Regions from separate parts of the Homo sapiens genome. Here all the other regions are linked to region 2. The links are contacts of gene promoters, found by promoter capture Hi-C in blood cells and fetal thymus (Javierre and others, 2016). All regions are on one chromosome and are shown on one strand. Each heading gives the region's core, a stretch centred on a gene start or on the middle of the fragment in contact. The rest is flanking DNA. Distances are from core to core; before and after follow the strand shown.

Region 1 (3,850 bases), core at 1,263-3,762, 120 kb before region 2:
AAAATCCTCACTATGCACTGACTAAGCAATGAAAATCAGCAGTCCAGCGGGGCGTGAGGGCTCATGCCTGTAGTCCCAGAACTTTAGGAGACCAAGATGGGTGGATCACTTGAGGTTAGGAATTCAAGACCAGCCTGGCCAACATGGTGAATCCCCGTCTCTACTAAAAACACAAAAATTAGCCGGGCATGGTGGTTGTGGGATATGATGAAGTTTCTCTTCAAATAGCCTGATCAATCCTTTATTCTTCAATTCATAGTAACCCCCCACCCCTTTTTTTCCTTTTTCTCTTTTTTCTTCCTTTCTGCCTTTATTACATGCCCAGACATGCCACAGTACCAGCGTTATCAGTACCAGCTCACATTCCTTTCCTTATTTAAAAAAAAACTAGCTCTCTAGCTCATTGCAGACACCCCTTCCCCCCTCTCCCTTATGTGCCCACCTTATCCAAAAAGGTTCAGATGTTTAGCCAACCAGGATTAGTTTAGAATGTACGACCCAACCCCAGCCAATGGGGAAGGAGAAAGGGTACAGGAGCAGGACTTGTGTCAGAAATAAAGGCTCTCATGCCCCTTTGTTCAGATGTGTTCTCATGGCAACTGGCCAAGGAGAAGCACCCCTCTGCACAAAAGTAAAATTGCTTTACTAAAAATCCTTTAAGTGTTCAATTTCCTTAAAATTTTAAGCATTATTCCCAACAGTGGTGCATGCCTGTAATCCCAGCTATGCAGGAGGCTTAGGCAGGAGAATCACTTGAGCCCAGGAGGTTGAGGTTGCAGTGAGCTAAGATCGCGCCACTGCACTCCAGCCTGGGTGACACAGCAAGACTCCGTCTCAAAAAAAAAAAAAAAAAAAAAAAATCAGCAATCCTATCTTCAGATGAGTTCATCATTCATCTCCATGTCTACGATTCAATCTAATAGTCATGTCCTTTAACCCTCTGCTGCGACCCTAAGCTCTACTACTTGATTTCTAGCTTCATCTATTCACTCTACATCCAATCCATATATCAGATCAGTTCTACTCAAATAGTGACCATTTTAATCAATCTGGTCTCTTCCTGACCTCCAACCTCTCTCTGTGCTTCTGACTAATGGGAGGATCTATACAGCCATTTGGTGTTTAGTTTTCTTGCTAAGGTAAAAGTTGCCAGCCACTTCTGCCTCAGGCACTTTCACTAAGAAAATTTATACCCTGTATACCAGAAAATAAGCTACTTTAAATTTTCTGTCTGAGCAGCTCAGTCTCTGACAACTTCCCAAAGGGCTTATCCTAAGAACACCGATGAGCTTTGCTAACATCTCACTTCCATATGCCCTGCAGCACTAAGAAGGAGTCCAATTTCTCCAGGGATAACAGCAGCATTACATACTCCCCAGAAACTCTTTGTTCTTTTTAAACGTCAGCTGGGGATAATTATGAGAATGAAAACTAGATTTTCAGTGAGCACAGGGATTTTGAGCATGGGAAGTACGTTCTGCTGTCAAAAGGAACTGTCCTCCCACAGTAGAACACATTGATGAGAACAAGATAAAAGACTCTATCTACCATAGGTCACTAACTCTCAAAACCACTTCAATCAGAAATGAGGACTGGCCTCCAGGTGACACAGAGCCAGGTGGGCCAGGTGCTGTTTGGAAGCTTTAACTTTAATCTTTTTCTAGATGGATGCCTGTCATCCCCTCTTCCCCCACCATCACACTACTCTAGCTCTTTGGACCCTCCCTATGTTTTAAGCTTCCTTTACCTACTTTCTCTGTCTCCTTTTCCAGGTAAATGTAGTGATGGAGAAGTGGGAAGTGTACTGTTTATTTGGGGTTGAATGAAGTGGGGAAGTGTCAGAAGAAAACTTTCAAATCTTCTGAATTCCCTTTAGTCTCTGAAAGCCACCTTTTTTTAAAAACATTATTTTTATTTATTTTATTTATTTATTTTTGAGACAGAGTCTTACTTTGTCACCCAGGCTGGAGCGCAGTGGCGTGATCTCAGCTCACTGCAACCTCCACCTCCTGGGTTCAAGTGATTCTCCTGCCTCAGCCTCCCAAGTAGCTGGGATTACAGGCTCCCACCACCACGCCCGGCTAACTTTTGTATTTTTAGTAGAGGTGGGGTTTCACCATGTTGGCCAGGATGGTCTTGAACTCCTGACCTCAAGTGATCTGCCCGCCTCAGCCTCCCAAAGTGCTGAGATTACAGGTGTGAGCCACCGCGCCCAACCTGAAAGCCACCTTTGAGCAGTCTGTATTTGTAGAGTTTAGGAGCACTAATGGTTATCTTGAGGTTAGGGTTTCACTCTCCATGACTATACCCCTATGCTTCACTAAGCCAGAAAAGGAATATGATAAGCATCATTCTTACTTTAAAATGAGGAAATTAAGGCAAAGAGAACAAAAGTAAGTTACATAAGAACAACAGTAGCAGCAGTTGAAAAACAATTGTTCTGATTTCCAGTCTTCTGCTCTATACATACGAAGGCAAAACAGATCACAATTTGTCAGGTAGACGTTTCCTGAGAGCAAACCTGAAGGCAGCTCTGTAGCATCTGTCTTGATTTCAATTCACAGTAACATGGCTGCTGCTCCTAGCTTTTCCCTCCTTGACCTCTGGAACCAGTGGCTTAGGAAGAAAAGGATACACTAGCCTCCTCACCTTGAGATGATAGAGCACAACACCTGTGCTGAGCACATCATCCTCCAAGGCCATCAAGTGTGGCAGGCTGGAGTCGATGACCACCCCAGCCCTCCTCCTGTTGATGTCCACACTGTAATGCTCCATGAGGGCCTGCCAATCATTCCACTTCTGGGTCCAGTCTTTAGTCAGCTGGTCTATCTGCAGAGGTATAGGAGGTGATCTGAGACACTCAGCATGGGGAACAGACTAAAGGTCAGAAGTCATTACAATCTATTCCTATTTCCCCAGGGTACTGCTTTCTTATGATCCTCCCAGATACTATTCAAAGCCCCACAGAAGCCCTTGTACCTCCTCCAACTGCAAGCTGTGTTTTCCAAGTTTTCTTCAATAAGCAAGTGTTACTTGTATAAACAGAAGCCCCCTCAATAAATGTTATTTTTAAAGTTTTCTGCAATGAACATGTATTGTTTTTATAATTAGAAAAAAACATGTTATTTTCAAGTTATTCTTTAAAAATTAATTGGGATGTTAGACATCTATGTTTATAATTTCCCTTTCCCCACCCCAGTTTTACATGATCCATACTTGGGAACCCTTTTATGACCTACACACTTCTTTCCCAAAGTACAGTACTTTGAGTTATAATATAAGCTTGCACACGGCTCACAGAACCACAAAGCACTGAGAGGAATCTCCCCAGGTGGAACTAAGACTATATGGAACTTGTCTGGAAGATCATGTAATAAGACAATAAAAACAATAATAACAGTAGAATACTGAGTTCTTACTGTGTACCAGGAACAGAGTTTTTAAAAGTAAATGTACCCAGCCTTAGAGGCCTTAAGCTAAGACCACTTTAGGGACATGCACAGTGATAAATGTAGGGTACTTTTTCTTCTTTTAGTGGAAACCGATGCCTAAGCATTGAGCTTATCCTGGGAATGGAAGAACTGAGGAAGCTCAGAAAAAAAAAAAAAAATTAGATTTAGCTAAGTGCTTCTCTCATAAAGGGAATAGTTAAAAAAAATTATGCCAGGTTTAGGTACAAGTGCTTTATGTACCCTAGAAACATTATTTTAATAATCATTGAGTTGAAGTTTGGAAACCAGGAAACTACAGGGTACCTGTAAAGGGCTGGGTTGGATAGGGACCCCTGGCATTGGTGAGTGGCAGGACACTCTGGCTTACAGTTCAGCCAACCTGGCACAGCTGCCCCTCT
Region 2 (3,923 bases), core at 792-3,291:
AGCCGGGTGAGGTGGTGAGCACCTGTAGTCCCAGCTACTCATGAGGCTGAGGCAGGAGAATGGCATGAACCCAGGAGGTGGAGCTTGCAGTGAGCCAAGACTGTGCCACTGCACTCCAGCCTGGGCAACAGAGCGAGACTCCGTCTCAAAAAAAAAAGAAAACACAGGAGAGAAGGGAGGAAGGATTACACTGTAGAGTGCTGTGGTCACTCCTGGTAAAGTTAGTCAACTAGGACCACCTGAATCTCCCCATCACCCAGACAATGGGTGTTCAACAAAAGCTTAAAATCTTTTAATACAGTATCACAGCCTCTTATAACAGTTCATCTTGAGAGGGGATACAATGTGTCAAAAGGGAGAGTACTAAGATCTAATTCTCCTTTAACAGTCTAGTGACCATGGGCAAGTTTCTTGGTCTAAGCCTTAGTTTCTTAAATTAAAAAATACTGTAAGGTATTAGAGTCTCTAATGGCTCTTCTGACTATAAAAAGTTATGTATTTTCCGTAAATCTTCCATCATGTTTGTAGTGCTTTTTTTTTTTTTTTTTTCCCTGAGACAGGGTCTCACTCTGTCGCCCAGGCTAAGTGCAGTGGCCCGATCGCATCTCACTGCAACCTCCATCTCTTAAGCTCAAGCCATCTTCCCATCTGAGCCTCCAGGACCCATGTGGTCCGCGGAGTAGTTGGGACTACAGGTGTACGCCACCATGCCGGCTAATATGTGCTGATTTTTACAGATCAGTTTAACTTTTCTGTTTTCTTTTTAGTGAAATTTCTCAACTTCCTCTATATATCAAAATTTATTTCCCCATTTTTCTCAATGCCCTTGATCCCACTTGCCCCATGCCCTCCTGTCACTGCATTCCATTATTTCCTCACATGTTCAATTTCTCCCTCTGTTGGCTCCTTCCTCCGACATGCTCCTCTTGCCCAACCTAAAACTGCCACTCCGTGACTCCTTGGGTTAATGTCTCTTTTCTCTCCTTCTCAAAATTAATCTCTTCCTCCATTCACGTTCCAAGGTCTTATCTTTTTAGCCAATACTTTTTTTTTTTTTTTTTTTTTTTTGCCTTTAAAGATGCCAAGGCCGGGCGCGGTGGCTCACGCCTGTAATCCCAGCACTTTGGGAGGCCGAGGCGGGTGGATCACGAGGTCAGGAGATCGGGACCATCCTGGCTTACAAGGTGAAACCCCGTCTCTACTAAACATACAAAAAAAAATTAGCTGGGTGTGGTGGTGGGCGCCTGTAGTCCCAGCTACTCCAGAGGCTGAGGCAGGAGAATCGCTTGAACCAGGAAGGCGGAGGTTGCAGTGAGCCGAGACCACGCCACTGCACTCCAGCCTGGGCGTTAGAGCGAGACTCTGTCTCATATAAATAAATAAATAAATAATAAAATAAAATAAAAATGTCAAAAAAGAGCTTCTGGCGCTCTTCTCTACCCAGCACCTCCCGCCCCAAATACGATTCAACACTTCCCACAAACGAGGGTTGTTGGAAATGCTTGTTCCGCAAGGGGACAGAACGACCCGTATTTCCCATCCCCGCCCTTACACTACAGTCTAGAGGCAGTATCACTGGATGAAAAAAAGGCTGGTAACAGTCTAATCTCCCACAAACTGGACTGGGACAAATTTACCCTACAGACACTCAAAACACAGTCTACCCTAAACACCATCTACTCAGATCCCCGCTTTCCAAGCATCCACGGCAGAACGTTCGCGGCTGTTGCCTGGAAGGGGCTCTTATTACTCTAGTACAGACCCCAACCAGGACCCTCACCACTCCCACAGCCAGCAGCACCAACTCACAGCCATATTGTTGCCACCTTGGGCACCCCCTTGATGACACCACCGCCACCCCCACGTACCTGATTGACCATCCCCGAAGCTATGAAGTGGCCTAGCACTAGCCCAGCGCCGTTAGGCGCGGACGCCGGGTCCCACGGGTTGGCAGCGGCCATGGCTCGGACGCACCTTCCGCGAAGGCGCCAAGAGTGAGCGGGATCGCAGGGCGAACGCACGGCGCGGCTCGATGACGTCACAGGGCGTTCCCGCCCGGGACTAAGCCGGGGAGCGCATCCCGGCTACTGCGGGTCCTGGGTCTTCACCTGCGGAGCCTTACGGCAGCTGAGCGGTGGGAGGCGAGTCCGGGGCTCCCTGATCTTCCGTAGGCTCCCAGAGGCGCCTGGCCTCCGCAGAGCTGCAAAGGCGGCAGGGCTTGGTGGTCGGGCTGTGTGTTCTTCCGTTTCTTCCTTGTCGCTCTTGGGTCGGGCCCCAGGAGCCAGGGATCGGCGGGAGTTGAGAGCTGGGGCAGGAGCCCCAGCCGGGAGGCCGACCGGGTGGACTGGGCGGTGACAGCAGCGCTTCCTTCCCGCAGGGACCTGAGCCGCGGCGCTAGGATGGGAAACAGTGCGCTCCGCGCTCATGTGGAAACGGCGCAGAAAACTGGTGTCTTTCAGCTTAAGGACCGAGGGCTGACCGAGGTGAGACTGGGAGGGACACGACCAGGGAACTTAAAGGGAGAGGGACGGCGGGGGCGGCGAACTTAGTCGGTGCGGGATTCCCCACGCTGTGAACTCCTTTCTCCAGTTCCCCGCAGACTTGCAGAAGCTGACGAGCAATCTCAGGACCATCGACTTGTCCAACAACAAGATCGAAAGCCTACCGCCTTTGCTGATAGGAAAGTTCACTCTGCTGAAGAGCCTCTCCCTGAACAACAACAAACTGAGTATGGCTCTCGCCAGGGAGGCTTTTGCTAGTGATCAGCTGTTACCAGGGGTGGTTTTCTCTTACAAGCTGATTTTTGTTTTTGTTATGAAACCGTGCAGGAGGGCTCAAGTTGCGAATGCCGGAATCCTTGAAGCCTTCTTTCTACTTCTTGTAATTACATCTAAAATAAGCCTTATAATGATTGGGTGTTATAATGATTGTTACTGGGTTAATTTGGACTTGAAAGAGAAGAACATTTTGGGGATGTAATGTAAACAAAGCTACCTAACTTGGAATGGGGGATGGATGAGAAGGGGAGGATCTTCCAAATATCACAAAATTGCTGTCGGATTGTGCCTTGGGCCCCTTTACAAAAGGAGCCCATTATACACACAAATGCTCTCCGGCATTTTGATGGCACCCTCACCTTCTAAAGACTATGTTGGTAAAATGCAATATCTAAAAATGGCACATGTGGGAGTTTTACATATATTAACAAGAGGCGAAGCAGGCTGCCATATAGTCTTTATAAACTTCATCAAAGTTGTTTTCAGCTCTATCACATTCAGGTTTTAAAAAAATTTTTCTTTGCCAGCTGTTCTGCCTGATGAGATATGCAATCTGAAAAAACTAGAGACGCTAAGCCTAAACAACAATCACCTTAGAGAGCTGCCGTCTACCTTTGGGCAACTCTCTGCCCTCAAGACCCTGAGCCTCTCTGGGAACCAACTGGGAGCATTACCTCCCCAACTTTGTAGCCTACGGCACCTGGATGTGATGGATCTCTCTAAGAACCAGATTCGAAGTATACCTGACTCAGTGGGAGAGCTGCAAGTCATCGAACTCAACCTCAACCAGAATCAGGTCTAGAGCTTTAAGGTTTTTTTTCCTACAGCATATGTGTGGCTTTAAGGTCTCCTGATACCTGTTAACCTCTTGTTTCCTAAACTGCCATCATAGAGCTAAGTATCAGAGGCTAAATGAGAGGTTTCTTCTATAGGCTGAACTAATTTCAAGGCCCAAAGTGCCATGGAATTAGTTGAGACACTGGATGTGTTAGTTGTGTAGGTGTTTTGGGGAGGGTGGGGTAGGTAACAGGGAGAGATCATTTCAAAAGTTAAACTACTGTCTCACAAATCTTGAAGACTTCTTCAGATCCTCCTCAAATATATGCCCCTAACCAGCTAGCCAGGAGCTATGTCAGGGATATAATG
Region 3 (3,659 bases), core at 249-2,748, 100 kb before region 2:
AATGACAGAAACAAACAAACCTGTTACCTGTTTGCAATTCCCTCCTCCAAGAGTTGGATTACTTGCTTATAATTGGTAACTACATGTTGAGATAAACCTATCGGATTTGTGAAACGGAAAAAAGAAATTAAATGAGATTTTTGGTAAACTTTAACCTTTTCTTGTAAGTCTTTATCATTCCTATTTCATATTGTTTAATAGACAAAAATGAGGGAATCTGGCCAAATTCATTCAGATAATAAATTAAATCAAGAAATATTTATTGGAAACCTCTTGTCAGGTATATGATAGACTCTAGGAATATAGGTCTCTGTCCTCACAGAGATTATGGTCTATAAGTCATATAGACCATATGCTAACAACAACTATAATTCCTTACAGTTCTGCTATATAGGTTATAAGAACTGTTCTCATTTGGCCCTCACAAAGTCCCTGAGGTAGGCCAGTGTTGTTTTCCCCACAAGGTGGCAGACTCGGTTTGGCATACAAAATACACAGTACACTCATCTCTGTCCTCCCACAGTTTACAATCATGGTAAGTTACACTACACAAGACAATATGGCCAAGTGCCACAGGAGTTGGAAAGATGATACATGATGAGGAGATCAGAGGCGTGGTCAGGACAGGTTCCACAGAAGAAGTGAGACTTAAATTTAGCCACTATAGAATGGGGAGGCTTTAGATAGGTGAAGAGGAGCCTACGGGCATGAAAGTAAATCTTCATGGCTGGTTACTGACCAAGTCCCAAAGGCCTTCCCAACTGTTCCAGAGAATCTCTGTATGAGAGATTCAAAAACAAAGTAACTTCATGGGCTTATTGCTAAATACAATTACACCCAAAATAACAAAGTAACATAAATGAAACCAACAAAAATAATAGTCAATAGAAAGCAATCCAAGAAAGACCCAGATACTGAAGCTACCAGGCCGACTTAAAAGTAACCCTGAAGGCTGGGCACTGTGGTTCATGCCTGTAATCCCAGCACTTTGGGAGGCCGAGGCGGGCGGGCCTGAGGTCAGGAGTTTGAGACTAGCCTGGCGAACATGGAGAAACCCTGTCTCTGCTAAAAATGCAAAATTAGCTGGGTGTGTTGGTGCATGCCTGTAATCCCAGCTACTCGGGAGGCTGAGACAGGAGAATCCCTTGAACCTGGGAGGCGGAGGTTGTGGAGAGTCGAGATCGCGCCATTGCACTCCAGCCTCGGCAACAAGAGCGAAACTCCATCTCAAAAAAAAAAAAAAAAAAAAAGGCCAGGCTCGGTGCCTCATGCCTGTAATCCCAGTACTACTTTGGGAGCCCAAGGCAGGTAGATCATGAGGTCAGGAGTTCCAAGACCAGCCTGGCCAAGATGGTGAAACCCCACCTCGACTAAAAATACAAAAAATTAGCTGGACATGGTAGCGGGAGCCTATAGTCCAAGCTACTCAGGAGGCTGGGGCAGGAGAATCACTTGGACCTAGGAGGCAGAGGTTGCAGTGAGCTAAGATCTCACCATTGCACCCCAGCCTGGGCGATAAGAGCAAAACTTCGTTTCAAAAAAAAAAAAAAGTAACTCTGCTTAATATTTTCAAGGAGTTTAAAGACAAGATTGTAAACTTGGAAACTATAATGAAATAATAAAATGGATATCTGAGAAATAATACTGTAAGTGAAAATAAAAACTCAATATAAAGTTTAATAGCAGGTTAGACATAGCTGAAGAAAGAATGAGTGAGCAGGAAGATAGATCAGAAACATACTCAAAATTTAGCACAGAGAGACAAAAGATTAAAAATATGGAGGGAGCCGGGTGCAGTGGCTCACGCCTGTAATCCCAACACTTTGGGAGGCTGAGGCGGGTGGATCATGAGGTCAGGAGTTCAAGACCAGCCTGACCAACGTGGTAAAACCCCGTCTCTCATGAAAATACAAAAATCAGCCGGCTGTGGTGGTGCGCGACTGTAATCCCAGCTACTCGGGAGGCTAAGGCAAGAGAATCGCTTGAACCCAGGAGGTGGAGGTTGCAGTGAGCTGAGATTGCGCCATTGCACTCCAGCCTGGGCAACACAGCGAGGCTCCATCTCAAAGAAAAAAAAATGGAGGCTAGGTGTGCACACCTGTAATCTCAGCTACTTGGGAGGCTGAGGCAGGAGGATCCCTTGAGCCCAGGAGTCCAAAACCAGTCTGGGCAACATTAGCAAGACTTCATGTCTAATAAATAAATTAATTAATTAAATATAGAAGAAATGGTAAGACTCACAGAGTATACAGGCAATAGGCCTTAACATACCTGTAATTAGAGTCCCAAAAGAAGAGGAAAGAATGGGATAGAAGGATTATTATAAGAGGTAATGGTAGTGGAGGGAAGGGGGGAAAAAAGGGAAAGGTAATGGCTAAGAACTTTCCAAAACTGATAAGAAGATACAAAAGCACAATTCAAGAATCCCAGCATGATTTTTTAAAAACCTAAATCTACCCATAAGTAGACCATAATAAACTGTTCAAAGACAAAAGTAAAAATATTGAAAAAATTAGACTAGGAGATGACTTCTCAGCAAAAACAGTGGAAAGCAGAAGAGAATGGTATAATTTTTAATGACTAAAAGAAAATAACCATCAATTTAAAATTCTGTACTCAGTGAACTTTACCTTCAAGAACAAGAAAAGCAGGCTGGGTATGGGGGCTCATGCCTGTAATCCCAGCACTTTGGGAGGCCGAGGCCAGTGGATTACTTTCGGTCAGGAGTTCAAGATCAGCCTGGCCAACATGGTGAAACCCCATCTCTACTAAGAGTACAAAAATTAGCTGGGCACGGTAGCATGTGCCTGTAATCCCAGCTACTCGGGAAGCTGAGGCAGGAGAATTGCTCAAACCCAGGAGGCGGAGGTTGCAGTGAGCCGAGATCGCGCCACTGCACTCTAACCTGGGTGACAGAGCAAGACTCCATCTCAAACAAACAAACAAAAAGCCAAAAGAGAACTTGTCAATAGCAGATCCACACTAGAGGGAAAACAAGATTATTCTTGAAGTAGAAGGCACTCAGAGATAAAAGGTAGGATATTCTTTAAAAATTAAGAGCCCTAAAAATGGCATTTAAGTCAAGAAGGGACAAACTGAGTTCAAGTCTTATAAGGTCCAAAAGGTTTATTGTCTGGGAAGAAGCAGAACAACCAGTAAATATTAGACTTTGATAAATCAATGGTCTATGTTGTAATCTCTGGAGTAACCACCAAAATAGTAAGACAATGTGTAAATAATAAGCTAGTGGAGAAGGAATATGGAATAATTTTTTAAAGTTATCAAACCAAAAGACAAAGTAACGAAAAAGGAACATAAAACAGGAAAAGTAAAGAGAAAACACAAAATAACAGATTTAAACCCAAATAAAATCAGTGATTACATTAAATACAAGCAGACCACAATACCAAATTAAAAGACCAAAACTGTGATGAAACAAAGGTAAAACAAAGCAAAAGGAAAATTTTTTAAAATAAAAAACACATCTGAAACATACATAGAAAACTGAAAGTAAAAGTAGAAAAGAAGATAAAAATACAAACAATAACACAAAGAAAGCTAGTTTCGTTAATGCCTGACAAAGTAGACTTTAAAGTAAAAGCATTATTAGAGATAAAGAAAAATCCTTCACAATGAAAAAAGTGTTCAATGAACCAGGA

Evidence for each region. Contacts are between HindIII fragments. The CHiCAGO score rates a contact against its expected background, and 5 or more counts as called.
Region 1: a contact is called between a fragment that was not itself captured here and the fragment with the promoter of LRRC57 in region 2, in 2 of 17 cell types (endothelial precursors and megakaryocytes). The highest score is 7.5, in endothelial precursors.
Region 3: a contact is called between a fragment that was not itself captured here and the fragment with the promoter of LRRC57 in region 2, in 3 of 17 cell types (endothelial precursors, megakaryocytes and total CD8 T cells). The highest score is 12.5, in endothelial precursors.

Annotation. Positions count from the first base shown.
Region 1 is chr15:42,668,137-42,671,986 of GRCh38, reverse strand. STARD9 (StAR related lipid transfer domain containing 9) reads right to left here. Exons shown (of 33, transcript NM_020759.3): 16 at 2,650-2,829. Among named protein-coding and RNA genes, the nearest start is that of CDAN1, 67 kb to the left of the region's middle. The HindIII fragment of the contact is 1,545 bases long and covers 1,740-3,284 here.
Region 2 is chr15:42,546,911-42,550,833 of GRCh38, reverse strand. LRRC57 (leucine rich repeat containing 57) reads left to right here and starts at 2,041. Exons shown (of 6, transcript NM_153260.3): 1 at 2,041-2,141; 2 at 2,378-2,483; 3 at 2,590-2,728; 4 at 3,305-3,573. The coding sequence starts at 2,400. HAUS2 (HAUS augmin like complex subunit 2) reads right to left here and starts at 1,996. Exons shown (of 6, transcript NM_018097.3): 1 at 1,869-1,996. The coding sequence starts at 1,961. RefSeq lists an enhancer at 1,736-2,205. The HindIII fragment of the contact is 3,855 bases long and covers 284-3,923 here.
Region 3 is chr15:42,647,454-42,651,112 of GRCh38, reverse strand. It overlaps STARD9 (StAR related lipid transfer domain containing 9), which reads right to left. Exons shown (of 33, transcript NM_020759.3): 8 at 28-97. Among named protein-coding and RNA genes, the nearest start is that of STARD9, 74 kb to the right of the region's middle. The HindIII fragment of the contact is 4,992 bases long and covers 1-3,659 here.